Linked DNA regions of Homo sapiens: region 2 is linked to region 1. The links are contacts of gene promoters, found by promoter capture Hi-C in blood cells and fetal thymus (Javierre and others, 2016). All regions are on one chromosome and are shown on one strand. The core of a region is centred on a gene start or on the middle of the fragment in contact, and the rest is flanking DNA. Distances in the headings are between cores, read along the strand shown.

Evidence for each region. Contacts are between HindIII fragments. The CHiCAGO score rates a contact against its expected background, and 5 or more counts as called.
Region 2: a contact is called between a fragment that was not itself captured here and the fragment with the promoter of LINC01116 in region 1, in 1 of 17 cell types (endothelial precursors). The highest score is 6.3, in endothelial precursors.

What each region holds. Positions count from the first base shown.
Region 1 is chr2:176,633,598-176,639,866 of GRCh38, reverse strand. It overlaps LINC01116 (long intergenic non-protein coding RNA 1116), which reads left to right and starts at 2,258. Exons shown (of 5, transcript NR_188023.1): 1 at 2,258-2,405. LINC01117 (long intergenic non-protein coding RNA 1117) reads right to left here and starts at 2,113. Exons shown (of 4, transcript NR_110599.1): 1 at 1,859-2,113; 2 at 294-376. RefSeq lists an enhancer at 924-1,438 and a silencer at 1,599-1,648. The HindIII fragment of the contact is 4,643 bases long and covers 1-3,152 here.
Region 2 is chr2:176,447,048-176,452,875 of GRCh38, reverse strand. No RefSeq gene overlaps it. Among named protein-coding and RNA genes, the nearest start is that of NRAL, 58 kb to the left of the region's middle. RefSeq lists a silencer at 2,661-2,955 and an enhancer at 2,521-3,128. The HindIII fragment of the contact is 1,840 bases long and covers 1,077-2,916 here.

The DNA.
Region 1 (6,269 bases), core at 1,009-3,508:
CGCTTCCCAGAGGCTGTTTTAAACAGTGACAGATTACAAAATCCTAATGTGATATGTTGGAACATGAAACACACACACACACTTGCTTGTGAAAAACCCTGCTGAAATCCTTAAAAGCCAAAGTTTAGAAGAACACGTGCTATGGATACACCAACAGTAATTTCAAAATCACTCTGTTTATGAGTCCATTCCTCACCTCTTTTATCACTTTGACACACTCTTTAGGAAATAACAGAGAAAGAGAAATATGAAGCTGAAGACAGAAAATTTAATTATAAAACAAAGCCACCCACCTTGCTTTCAGGGTCAGGAGGTACAATGGCCTTCTTTTGCAGCAAGAATGAACTTAACACCCGTGTGTTAAATGATCACGTATCTATTTAAAAGAAAAGGAAATGTTTTTTAAAAGAAATGAAAGCTATATTCTCAGTCCTTCCTATAGCCAAGTCTTACCAAAAAATAAAAATAAAAGCAGTGTACTGTGGCTCTCTGGCACAAGGCAGAAAGCCGAGTCCTTAAGTCACTATTCCCCGGTTTCGCAAAACAAAATAAAACCAAAAAGCAACAGCAAAAGGTGTTTGGCAGGTGGGAAAGGGCCTTAAAACACCTTGTGCCCTCCTGGGTCCCTCCCAATGCCTTCAGTGTGGGCTGTGGAAACAACACCGCTCAACACCAAAGTCACCATCGGCAGTTTAAATGCCACAAAAGTACACTTAGAAATGAGAAGAAAGTGGGGCCGGGCGCGGTGACTGACATGGATATGTACAGCCAACCCCACTGCCACTAGAACAGTCTTAAATGCCCACACAAGGAGTATAAAAAGAAAAGCACATTTTGCAATAGAATAAATTCTTTTTTTTTTTTTTTTTTTTTTTTTTTATTGAGACCGCGGAAAGTCACATGACCCTGCATGTAGCCTTTTAGGAAAGCAACCGAAATGGTAAAGCCAGGAGCCGGGGCTGCCTGCTTCCTCCTGCAGCCTTTCAGCCCGTCCTGTCGCGCGTCCACATTCTTCTGGGCGCATCTGTGGAGCTATTAAGTGGGATAATCCCTCTGGCCTTTGATACATTTCTGGACATGATTATTTCATTACTCGCAGTATATCAGTAGGATCATAATAAAAAGGACTTCTGACAACCTGCCAAGAGTTTTGTGGCCTTGTAAACACAAAAGTGCTCTAATAAAATTTTATTAAGTGTTAAAAAGTCATAAAAAGTGAAATAACATAAACTACAAAATTTACTGTCCTCAGCAAATCCTGAAAATATCTTCCACAGTAAAATTAAATTAGCATGTAATAGACAGAGAAGCAGTGTGGAGTGGATTTAAAAGAGGATCCAGGGAAAATGACACTGTAACCCAATCAGGGTCACGGGGATTTAATTCGGATTTTCCCCCTTAAATGTGGATAAATGTGCTGATTACAGACGAGAGCTCCGGGGTTACTGGAGTCTCACACATTGTCAATACTTCGGAAGAAATAATATATTGCAGATTGTAACGAGCACGGGGAGCCAGCGAAAGGCAGGGCGTCCACTAGGGCGCGCTGAGAGACCGGGAATCCCCGCAAGGGCGCCCGCGCCGCCCGCCACCCGCCGCCGCGCGCACGCCGCGCCCTCGCCCACCTCCAAATAATATTTACAGTTAGGGTTTTTTTTTTTTTTTTTTTTTTTTTTTTTGCTCTCGCCCGTGACATTTTCTCCAAATCGGAAGAAAATCAAGTGTATGTCGAGCTTTGCCGCAGGCAGCCCTTGGTCTCCGCTTTCAGATTCGGGGTCCGGGAGCGGAGCGCCCTGCCCGCGGCGGTGCTAAACTCTGGGGCCAGGGTGTGGCCCTCAGCGAGCGCCCTGGGACTGGCCGCCCCGCCGAAGGATGCCGAGGATCGGGCAAGGCCGGCGTCCGGTCTGCGCGGGGCGCGGGTGCTCTCCGAAGGCCGCGAGCCACGGGCCTCGCTGCGGGTTCAAGTGCGTCCGGGTTTGGACGTCGCGGCTCCAGGAGTGTGCTCTCTCTCCTGCCCATCCCCTCCCCGGAGTTCAGCGCATCCGGGGCCCCGGGGACCCCTCTTCCCGGCCCTCCTGGCCGCGCTGGCCCGCCCGCATGGGGCCGAGGTTCCTGGCCGACGCGCGAGGGCGCGGGCGGGTACCGGGTTCCCGTTTTTCCCAGGCCCCGATCCCCGCCCACGCACGAGGCCCCCGGCCCACGCACGAGGCGCCCACGCCCATCGTGGAGGCTCCGCCTGGAAAAGAAGTCCGACTTCCTCTCCAAGCTGCTCCGAGGGGAATGGGGAATCGGCAGGAAATGACCCGAACTGCCAGCCTGCGCCTTTGCAGCCGGCCCTCGCTTTGCTGAAGACGAGCAGCTCCCACCAAAGTCTTGCCTCCCCTTACCCCGAAAGCCCCGCTCAGGTTTGTAAAGAGGGGTGCGAGATCTGAAAAGTATTTGTCTTCTAGGGAGAGAGATGTTGGTAAGGGGCCCAGAGAAAGACGGGTCCTTTTTAGCTCATCAACGCGCCACGTCTTGCTTTGCAGCTCCAAAATGATGCCAGCGCTGCTGTCCGAAGGGTCAATATTAATGCGTTAAGTGAAATGGGAAATAAATGGACAGTGGCACATTTCGTGGCATCATTTTTACAAGGGGATGTCGAAAGTTTTAAGCTGCATTTAAGAATTAGCCACATCTTGCCTGAAAGTTAATATTTTTTGATAAACTCGTTAATAAAGCCTAGAAGAGGTAAGTTAAAGTTAGTTACCACGTAGATCCTCCAGTCTCTTGTAGAGACTTGCGCAGGTTACTAGGATGAGGACGAGTTGTATTTTTAATTTTCTAGACTAAGTGCAAAGGCATTGAGTTTTGAGGTGGCAGGGTTAATGTTCAAGGGCAAATGGAACCGCCAAGGATCTCTTGAAAAGAATTCACTTACTATTAATACTTAAGCCTGAAATAATTATAATTAATTTACAGTGGGAATTATATGCCCATGTTTTAGACTTTTTTGTTATATTAGCTATATGAAAAGGGATGTTCTTTAGTGATTAAAAGAAAAAACCACCTGTTTATTGTCATTTGCAATTTGAAATAGCCGACAGCAGTAAGGCTAGCTACAAAAGCTAACAAGTCAACTTCAGTGTGGTTTGACATTTACTGTCAAAGCTTTGAGCTCTAAGAAAAACAGAATTTAAAATAATGTATATAAATAATAAAATTTCATTGTGACTCAATGTCCCTGCCCCTGGAGAAGGGACAGATGACACTCAGTGACTGGCTTGGAACCATTCCCCCTGCAGATGCATTTGCGGATACAGTGGGCCAGGGCTGCCTCTGAGTATGTACAGCAAGTGCTTATGGACTTACAGAAACAAATGTTTTACTATTTAGGATTTTCTCAATAGTTTACACTAAAAGTTTTGCATGTAGAAATGTGGGATAAATATTTCTTTGAAAGGAAAAGTTTCGAAAGGAAACTTTATACTTGTATTTTTTTGTGTGTTCACATTTCTAAGTTCATCTGTCTTTCAAAAAACAGATTTTCATAAATATTAAAATATTGCAAGTATTATTTTTAATTCTTTTGAGTGCCATGTTTGCTGTAAGTAGTTTTTTCTTTTAAGTAAGATTAATATAATCCTGTCTAAGGAGTTTAATAGAGAGAACAGGATTTCCAAGCCTATAAATGCAGTCTATATAAAATAGTGGGATCAAAGTTTTTTGTTAAGAAACTTGAGAATTTATACATTTTAAATGAAGATAGAAGCACGTTTTAAAAGTAGTTTTTCCACACCATTTCCCTCCCCCCAAAAGAATTCAGAAACTATATTCCATAGTCTAAAAATGGCATAATCAGATGTAAAAATTATTACCATAATATATAGTTTTCTCAAGATGGTGGATACTTTTTAATATATTATGAAGAGTTATATTCTCAGCCCACTGTGTGTTTGAGGGAATGGAAAAGACAAGATGTTTCTAAACATATTTTACTACTGAAATCCATAAGACTATTAAGCTGTGCAGGTAATTGTGTTCTAAGTGGTAGAAGTATTTTTCCAACTGCTTTTTAAACTTTGAAAAATTTATATGTATTTTAATTAGCACTTTTCTTTTAAAGGTTCCAAATATTTAGCTATATCAGCTATGTGATAAAAATTATTGGAATTTGTTCCCTACTACTTTCTGCATAAACAATTGAGAAATATTTTATACTAATCTTTTTATATACAGGGGATAAATTTGAACATGTGTCTTGTTGGTGTAATAAACAATCCAAATTCATTTCTTTCTTGAAAACTTGGCATCGATCTTCATCTTATTTTTTATGCACACAATTTGGACATGCCAGTTTGTAGGCAAGTTTTAAGACAGTGCAAGTTTTATGTGGAAGAATGTATATTAAGGAATGAATAGCTAATAGCCAAAATTAAATCAGGAGGTGTGGCATTCACTCCTTTGGATGATTATTTTAAAGATAGTTTTGCACTCAGGAAGGATTTTCTTATGCTCTGTATTTATGAATATCTAAATTATCCTGCCTTGCAACTTCAAAACTCAATAACCAAATACCAAATTTATGTATTTTCAGTGTGACTAAGGCTAGGAATATGAGAAGCAGATTGGTTTTATAAAAGAAAGCAAGCATTTACAATTGTATTTTAAAATATAATCCTAATTTCAGTTTCTGACAGAAATCTTGTGGTCAGCTCATCAGTTTTTCAGATCAGTTTCTAAATAGCATATAAAAACTACCTTTTCCACATCAGAAGTTCATATTTAGGTTTCCTTAACTGCAAAATCACTTTAAAAGAGAGTGTTTTATGTGAAGGGCCATTTCATGTGTTGGTTCCATCGATTACATATGAATGTATAAAAATCTTGTTTAAAGACCAGTAAAAGTGAGGAAATTCCAAGTCAGGCTGGCTAATTCCATTCATAATTCATCCCGAGTACCTGACTGAGGAAACTTGCAAACAGTTTATAGCTATACATACAAAATAAGTTGACGTGCTTTGTAAGCTGGAAGCAGAGTTAAGTTTGACCTCCCTGCTTGGAAGGTCTTAAATTAATAAAATTATGGAATATGGTTAAGCTTTTCAGTTTCCCAAGAATTTTCCAATATCGATGCTTTTTGGATTTTTGCATTTTGAAAATGTAAGCATGGAAGGACAACTTCTTTTGTGCTGAGATGAAGTTAGCTTTTACCCATCCATTTCCTTCCCACTTAACACATTTGTTCAGTAATTCTTCGAGTGCTGGGGGACAGAGGCCCTGCCTTGAGAAAAGCATATGCCATTTCTCTGCCCCCTTCAACCATCCCCACCCCCAGCCCTCCCTTTATTTCAAGCCAGTTGGACAAGTATTTAGCATTGACACATGTTTCAAACTGCTGCATCCACAGCCCTAGGTAGTTTTGGGGATTGGCAGGAAATCCATCTAGACTTTGCCTTCTGAGCTGGGTAAAACTACTAGGAAGTCCTATGCCTTGATATTGTGGCACTTCTAGGCTGTCTTTCCAATTTTAAGCAATCCATCAGTTGTTTTCTAAGACTGCACTGTAGACTGATGCCTTCTCTTAGTTTTGATGTTCAGAAGATTTTTTAAACATGTTCATAGATTTCTTAAACATTCTGAGTAATTGTAATTTTAAACTAGACTAATTTTAGGGTTGAAAACTGTCCCAGAGAGAGTCCTTACATAATAACTTCAATCTGATGTGAACTCGAATGACTTTTTAAAAATAAGATGTTGAAAATGTGGGTTTCTGGTGGAAAAGGCTGCCATTCACTTAGAGTGGGATCCTTAGGACCAGTTAATATCCACCAGACATGCTTCAATAAACTGGAACAAGCCTGATGTGGAATTACTGACTCCCCATTTTCCTGAATGTAGGTCATTTTGTGTCCTTACAATTTAACGTTTGAAGGGATTTCCTGTCTTTGAAGTGCAACAGTTTGTCACCTGCTTGGCTAGCTGCCTTAACAGTTGGGGCTCCTTTCCTACATTGAAAGACTTAGTGACTCCATGTTCCCGGGCTAGAGTTTCCCAGCTCACTGAATGCATGATACCTGCACCTCTGGGACTCTCCTCTACAAGTTAGTGCCTGCAGATCCCCTGTTCCAAGCTTCATTTCTCTAGGTCAAAGAGCCTAAAAGAAAAGCCCGGGCCGGGCGCGGTGGCTCACGCCTGTAATCCCAGCACTTTGGGAGGCCGAGGCGGGCGGATCACGAGGTCAGGAGATCGAGACCATCCCGGCTAAAACGGTGAAACCCCGTCTCTAC
Region 2 (5,828 bases), core at 747-3,246, 190 kb after region 1:
ATATCAGTCCAGGGTAGCATTTTTCCAGTGGTCACATGCATGGCTGGGAAGTAGTATTTATGTGCCATCTTCCTGGGATTCTCGTGGACTCCATAGGCAATTTGAAGATAAGATTTTTTTTTTAAAGAGTCTTGCTCTGTCACCCAGGCTGGAGTGCAGTGGTACGATCTCGGCTCACTGCAGCCACCATCTCCCGGGTTCAAGTGATTCTCCTGCCTCAGCATCCCGAGTAGCTGGGATTACAGGCACCTGCCACCACGCCCAGCTAATTTTTGTGTTTTCAGTAGAGACGGGGTTTCACCATGTTAGCCAGGCTGGTCTTGAACTCCTGACCTCATATGATCCGCCTGCCTCGGCTTCCCAAAGTGCTAAGATTACAAGCGTGAGTCACCGTGCCTGGCCAAGATTTTAATATTGCTTTTTTTTTTGTTTGTTTGTTTTGCCACTTCTTGATGGTTTCTTTTACACCCAAAAAGAACTTTTCACTGATAAGGATTATGTGATGGCATAATTCTAAAATACAGAAAGAAAAAGAAAGAATCCAGAGACCTTGGTGCTGGGAAGAGGGGCCAGGCAGAGCCTTGGAAGTGGTGAGAAATACCAGGATCTCTCATGACCCACAAACAAGCCTGGAGACTGCTCCATGGTGTGTCTCCATATTTGTACATCCTGGGGAGCCCAAAGGACAGTTGGGGTCTTTTTATCAAAAACAGTAGGAAATAAATCCCAAAGAGATTTTACTATATAATCATATGTTTGCTGACATATTTCAAGCTCCCTTTACATGCCCAACACTGGGCTAGGAGCAACAGAGAGAAATAAGGCATAGTTCTTGCCTTCAAGGGACTTGCAGTCTGGTGGAGCGGAGGTCAAGGAGACCAGCCTTCACACACAGGATGCTGTGGACACCAGAGGGGAGTGCAGGGAGGGGAGCCTAACTTAGCTGAGGCTGTCTTGCAGAAAGCTTTGCGAGCCACCTGATCCTTAACAAACCTAGAAAGGAGGTTCTAGGCATCAGGAACTGCACCAAAGCATACAAGCACATGGAACAAATAGATACTGCAAGAAGCAAAGCTTACTCATGGGGAAATCATGAGAGATGATTCAAAGGTGGACAAGAGCCAGACTGTGAGTGGCCATGCTAAAGAATGAGAATTATAGGCCGGTCACAGTGGCTCACACCTGTAATCCCAGCACTTTGGGAGGCCAAGGTGGGCAGATCACCTGAGGTCAGCCTGGCCAACATGGTGAAACCCAATCTCTACTAAAAAAACAAAAAAATAGCCTGGCATGGTGGTGGGTGCCTGTAATCCCAGCTACTTGGGAGGCTGAGACAGGAGAACCACCTGAAATCAGGAGGTGGAGGTTGCAGTGAGCTGAGATCATGCCACTGCACTCCAGCCTGGGCAACAAGAGTGAAACTTCCTCTCAAAAAAAGAATGAGAATTGTAGACTCCAGGAGAAAGGAAACCACTAAGGTATGAGCTTGAGAGTGATACAATCAGAGTTGAATCTTAGAAAAATCATCTGGCAAGAGTGCAGGAGCTTATTGCCAAGGGTTGATCTGACAGTAGAAAGACCATAACCTGGGCTCACTTTGCAACTCCTTTCCCAAAGTGAATTTTCACCTGACATTAAAGAAACATCCCAGCAGCCCACATTTATAGGGGCCAATGGCTCTAACACTGACTCCTCCTACCTGCGTAGATGAAGCAGGGCCATGAATTATTTGCAGCTCTTTTCTTAAAGAGATGGAATCCATTTTCCTACTCCTTGAATCAGGGCTGCGCTTGTGACTTACTTTGACCAACAGAAGTGTTGTTGTGAGGCTTCCAAGCCCAGGCCTTAAGAGATCTTGCAGCTTCCACTCTCACTCTTCTGAAACACCGCTATCACCATATAGGAAAGCCCAAGCTAGCTTCCTTGAGGATAAGGCCAAGTAGAGAGGCCCAGACAGCAAGCTGTTCCAGCAATTCACTCACATATGAATGAGATGGTCCCCACCAGCCAGCCTCCAAGCAACCCACCAATCAATTGCCACATAGGTGACTCCAGGAGGCAAGATAAGCAGAAGAACCATGGAGATGAACCCAGCACAAATTACAAAATCAAGAAATTAATGGTTGTTGTTTCACACCGCTATCTCTTGAGTGGTTAGTTACCCAACAATAAATAACTGGTCCTCCTTTATACTGCAATTTGTGAAAGCTGGCACTGGAACAACAAGCTGTCCAGATATTTGCAAGAATTAATACTGTCTGGAGGGTAAATAGACGCCATATCCCTAGAGCAGAAGGGGTTTCTGCAGGGATTGTCTGAGTCTCCTTCCCTCCAGAGTGCCAATTAGGATGGCTGACTTGCTCTAACTTATATCTAACTATAAATGCACTGTCTGATTGATAGGACATCAATGTTAATTAATAATTCATAGTATGGTCAGACTTTTTCACATGTAATCACAACTTTACATCTCAAGAAATGCCCCTGTAGCTAGTTGGAAAGCAGCTTTTCCTTCAGATTCTGACTTTCAAAAAAAGTTATCACAGTCTCTCAGAGTAGAATTTGGAGAAAGTGTGTGAAAAAGTCAAAGTTGACAAGAAATGCCATTTTTCTCCTTGGTGCATGATGCCTTTCCTGCAGAATGTAGCTTTCATGTGAACAAACCCCACTGCAGGGACAGACAAGGAGAAGACAAAATGATTCGGTATTTACAGCCTCTCCCATTAACCACTCAGATTCCAGATGGTGGAAAGTCGGGGAGGAGCCCTGAAACAGGCGCTTGAAACCAAAGCTGATGCTATTGAAATTCATGGCATCCAAATTCCTGAATCTGCATCAAAAGGGAGAGAGCCTTGTTGCCACACACTTGAACTCATTTTGAACCTGCAGGAATTCTCTGTAGCATACTACCAAGCTTTATCTTTGTTCCATACATCTAAAGTTAAGTTTCTATCTTTTTTGTCACCACATCATACCAAAACAGCTAGACAGATTTTTATCAATTTTGAGGATGTGTTTAGGATGTCCCAACTTGAAGAAACAGGCCATGGGGCTTGCAAACATGCAAGTCACTACAGGAGGCCCTGGGGAGCAGGTAAAAATGAGACAGGAGAGGTGCTGATAACTACTAATCTGAGATATGGCAAGGAAGAAAACAAAATGGAGTTTCAGATGCGAGCCCAAACTGAAACTCATGAAGGCCTCTCAACTGCAAGCATCAGTTCAAGATAGAACTGCTTCTCGAGAAGCTGCATTTATGGTGTCCTCCCTATGACCAGCAGCAGGGATTTATTCATTTAATGAGGGTTAAAGAGTCTTCCCAGTAACACAGGGGAGACCAGTGAGTGTAAGAAATACATATGGGCAGTGTACCTTGAGAGACACACTTTTTGGAAACAAAGACATATTCAAAGCTGAGTTCAAATATGTTCCCCTCATGGCTCGTGGCGAGCATTTAATAAACAATAGTTGAATGAATGAAGAAATGATTGGATGGGTGACTGAGTGAATGAATGAAGGAATGATTGGATGGGTGACTGAGTGAATGAATGAAGGGATGAATGTTGTCTGGGGAGCTGTGAAAGGTAGAGAAGCAAAAGGGAACTTCTGGCAATACCCTTCACAGAAAGCCAAGCCTTGTTAGCGGGGCTTTACATTGAATGGCATTTTTAGTTTCATTATCTAATAGTGTTGAACATTCTCAAACTATATTTAAAAGATCTAAAATATAAAACAGTGGCTTTAAAAGGCAAACATTATACTCCTTCTGTAGTACTTTTTATAAGATCTGTTTACCTCGTGCTTAATATTGGCAATGCCACTGTTCCTGCAATGAATTGACAAAACAGTTCAATACACCTCATTTAGAACCATTATGGGGCATTTCATCAAAGATCTGGTTATGAACGTCCCCAAAGAAAGGATCAATTAGATTTTTATTATGCTTGGGAAAGATTTATTTAAGAAAAAAAAATCCCTATAAAATGGAGGGGACAGATAAAGTGTGACCAGGGCAAAGGACACATTCCATTTTATGCCACTGAAGATAAATATAATTTTTATTTTAACAATAGTCTATTCCCACATATATTATCCATGTAATTGTTTATGTTTCAAAACCCACTTCATAGCAGTTTTACAAGTGGCAGAGATAGACTATTCTCAAGAGGTTGTGCTCAAGAACTGCCTTAAAGAGAAAACGGCACTATAATTAGCGCATTTGGTACATTAGCGATAAAGCACTCCTTGGAGGGCAAGACAGGCCCATAGCCCACCAAACTCCTCCCTCTTGGAAGAGTGCTAGAGTGAGGCTCTCTGGTGGCTCACACATTGCTACAATTGGGTCAAGGTTCTCCTGCATCGTGGTCTTAGGTAAAGATACCATGAAACATTTAATCATGTATTTATTTTCTCTACACAAAATGTATTAATTTAGCCTTAATTTGATTTTGTTTAGTCTCATATAGTTTTATAACTTGATAAGAAAAACATTTCTACTTGGCTTTAATATTTTTCATTATACCTGCCAAGTCAATAATTTGAAGAAAGCTGGATAAAATTTTCAAAAATTTTTGGATTTATATTGTTTCCCCAGTTTTGTTCAGCCTTATCAATAAGCTCTTATTCTTATTGTCCTCTATACAAATCTTAGAGGCATGTAATCTCAAGGCAGGCACTTGAGAAGAGCAAACATTGTTTCCCTATAGGTATCAGTCAAGATTCTTTGGGTACAAGCCAGAGAAACAGACTCTGGCTAATGCAAGAAGCAGGTTATGGGAAGGATACAGCTCATGGAGAGGAGGGCGAGAAGAGCAGAAACTCAGACAGTACCAGTGACCTCCCTCTCAGAGCCCCAGACTCGGTTCCACCCATCTTCAGTCTCTCAAGATAGGGAACCTGATTGGCCCAGCTTGGGTCTAAAATCTCTATCCTTGAACCAATCAGATGAGGTCAGGAGCTAGGGATGAAACCGCAGACAGGGTCACTAAGGGTACTATGAGCTGCACAGCCATCCTCTCTCATGTCCACTACACTCTAGACTTGTATCTTGTAAATATTGCCTAAGTTACTTTTATTGCATCATATCTGACAATAATAAGTGCTTATATTTTTGTAGAATAAGCTCAAAAACAGGCATTTGTGCAGTTTTACAGTTTTAAAATACTTGATATATATTATTATTATTAATAGCAAAGTATTATAAACAGCAAAAGCTATCATTTCTAACAGTAAATCACCACTTACATGCTTACAAGGTGCAGGGCTGGTGCTAAACACTGAATAAATTGTTACAACAAACTAACAGGTTTGTGTCATTATTAAGTTTGTTAGATATTTCAAGAATAAATAAAGTAAAATAATACATATAAAATTTAAGTTCTATCTCATATATGGATTTATTTGAGCTTCCCAAGACCCTGTTGAAATAATAATTACTCACAATACACACAGTCAAGGATAAAAAGACCCAGAGAGCCAGAGTGCCTGCTCTGTACCTATAAATGACAGAATCCTCATCCCCTACCTGCTCGTCCAGTGCTCTTTACAATGTAAGGACAACAGAACTTGAGAGGATCTATCAATAAGGACACTTCTAGAGCTTTGCCTATCTTAAACAAACTCACTCGTAGTTCATAGGCTCAGGAGTAATTATGGAGATAAATTCTTACTGGGTCGGATTTCAGTTTTGTTTATTTCCTTTGACAGGAAGAAGGAGGAAGTGAATTCATTAGGGTACAGTCTAAACTGCTATAACTAATAGACTCAAAAGTTAAGTGACTTAATTTCTTTCATACCTGTGTCTGGAGTGAGCAGGCCAGGACAGGGAG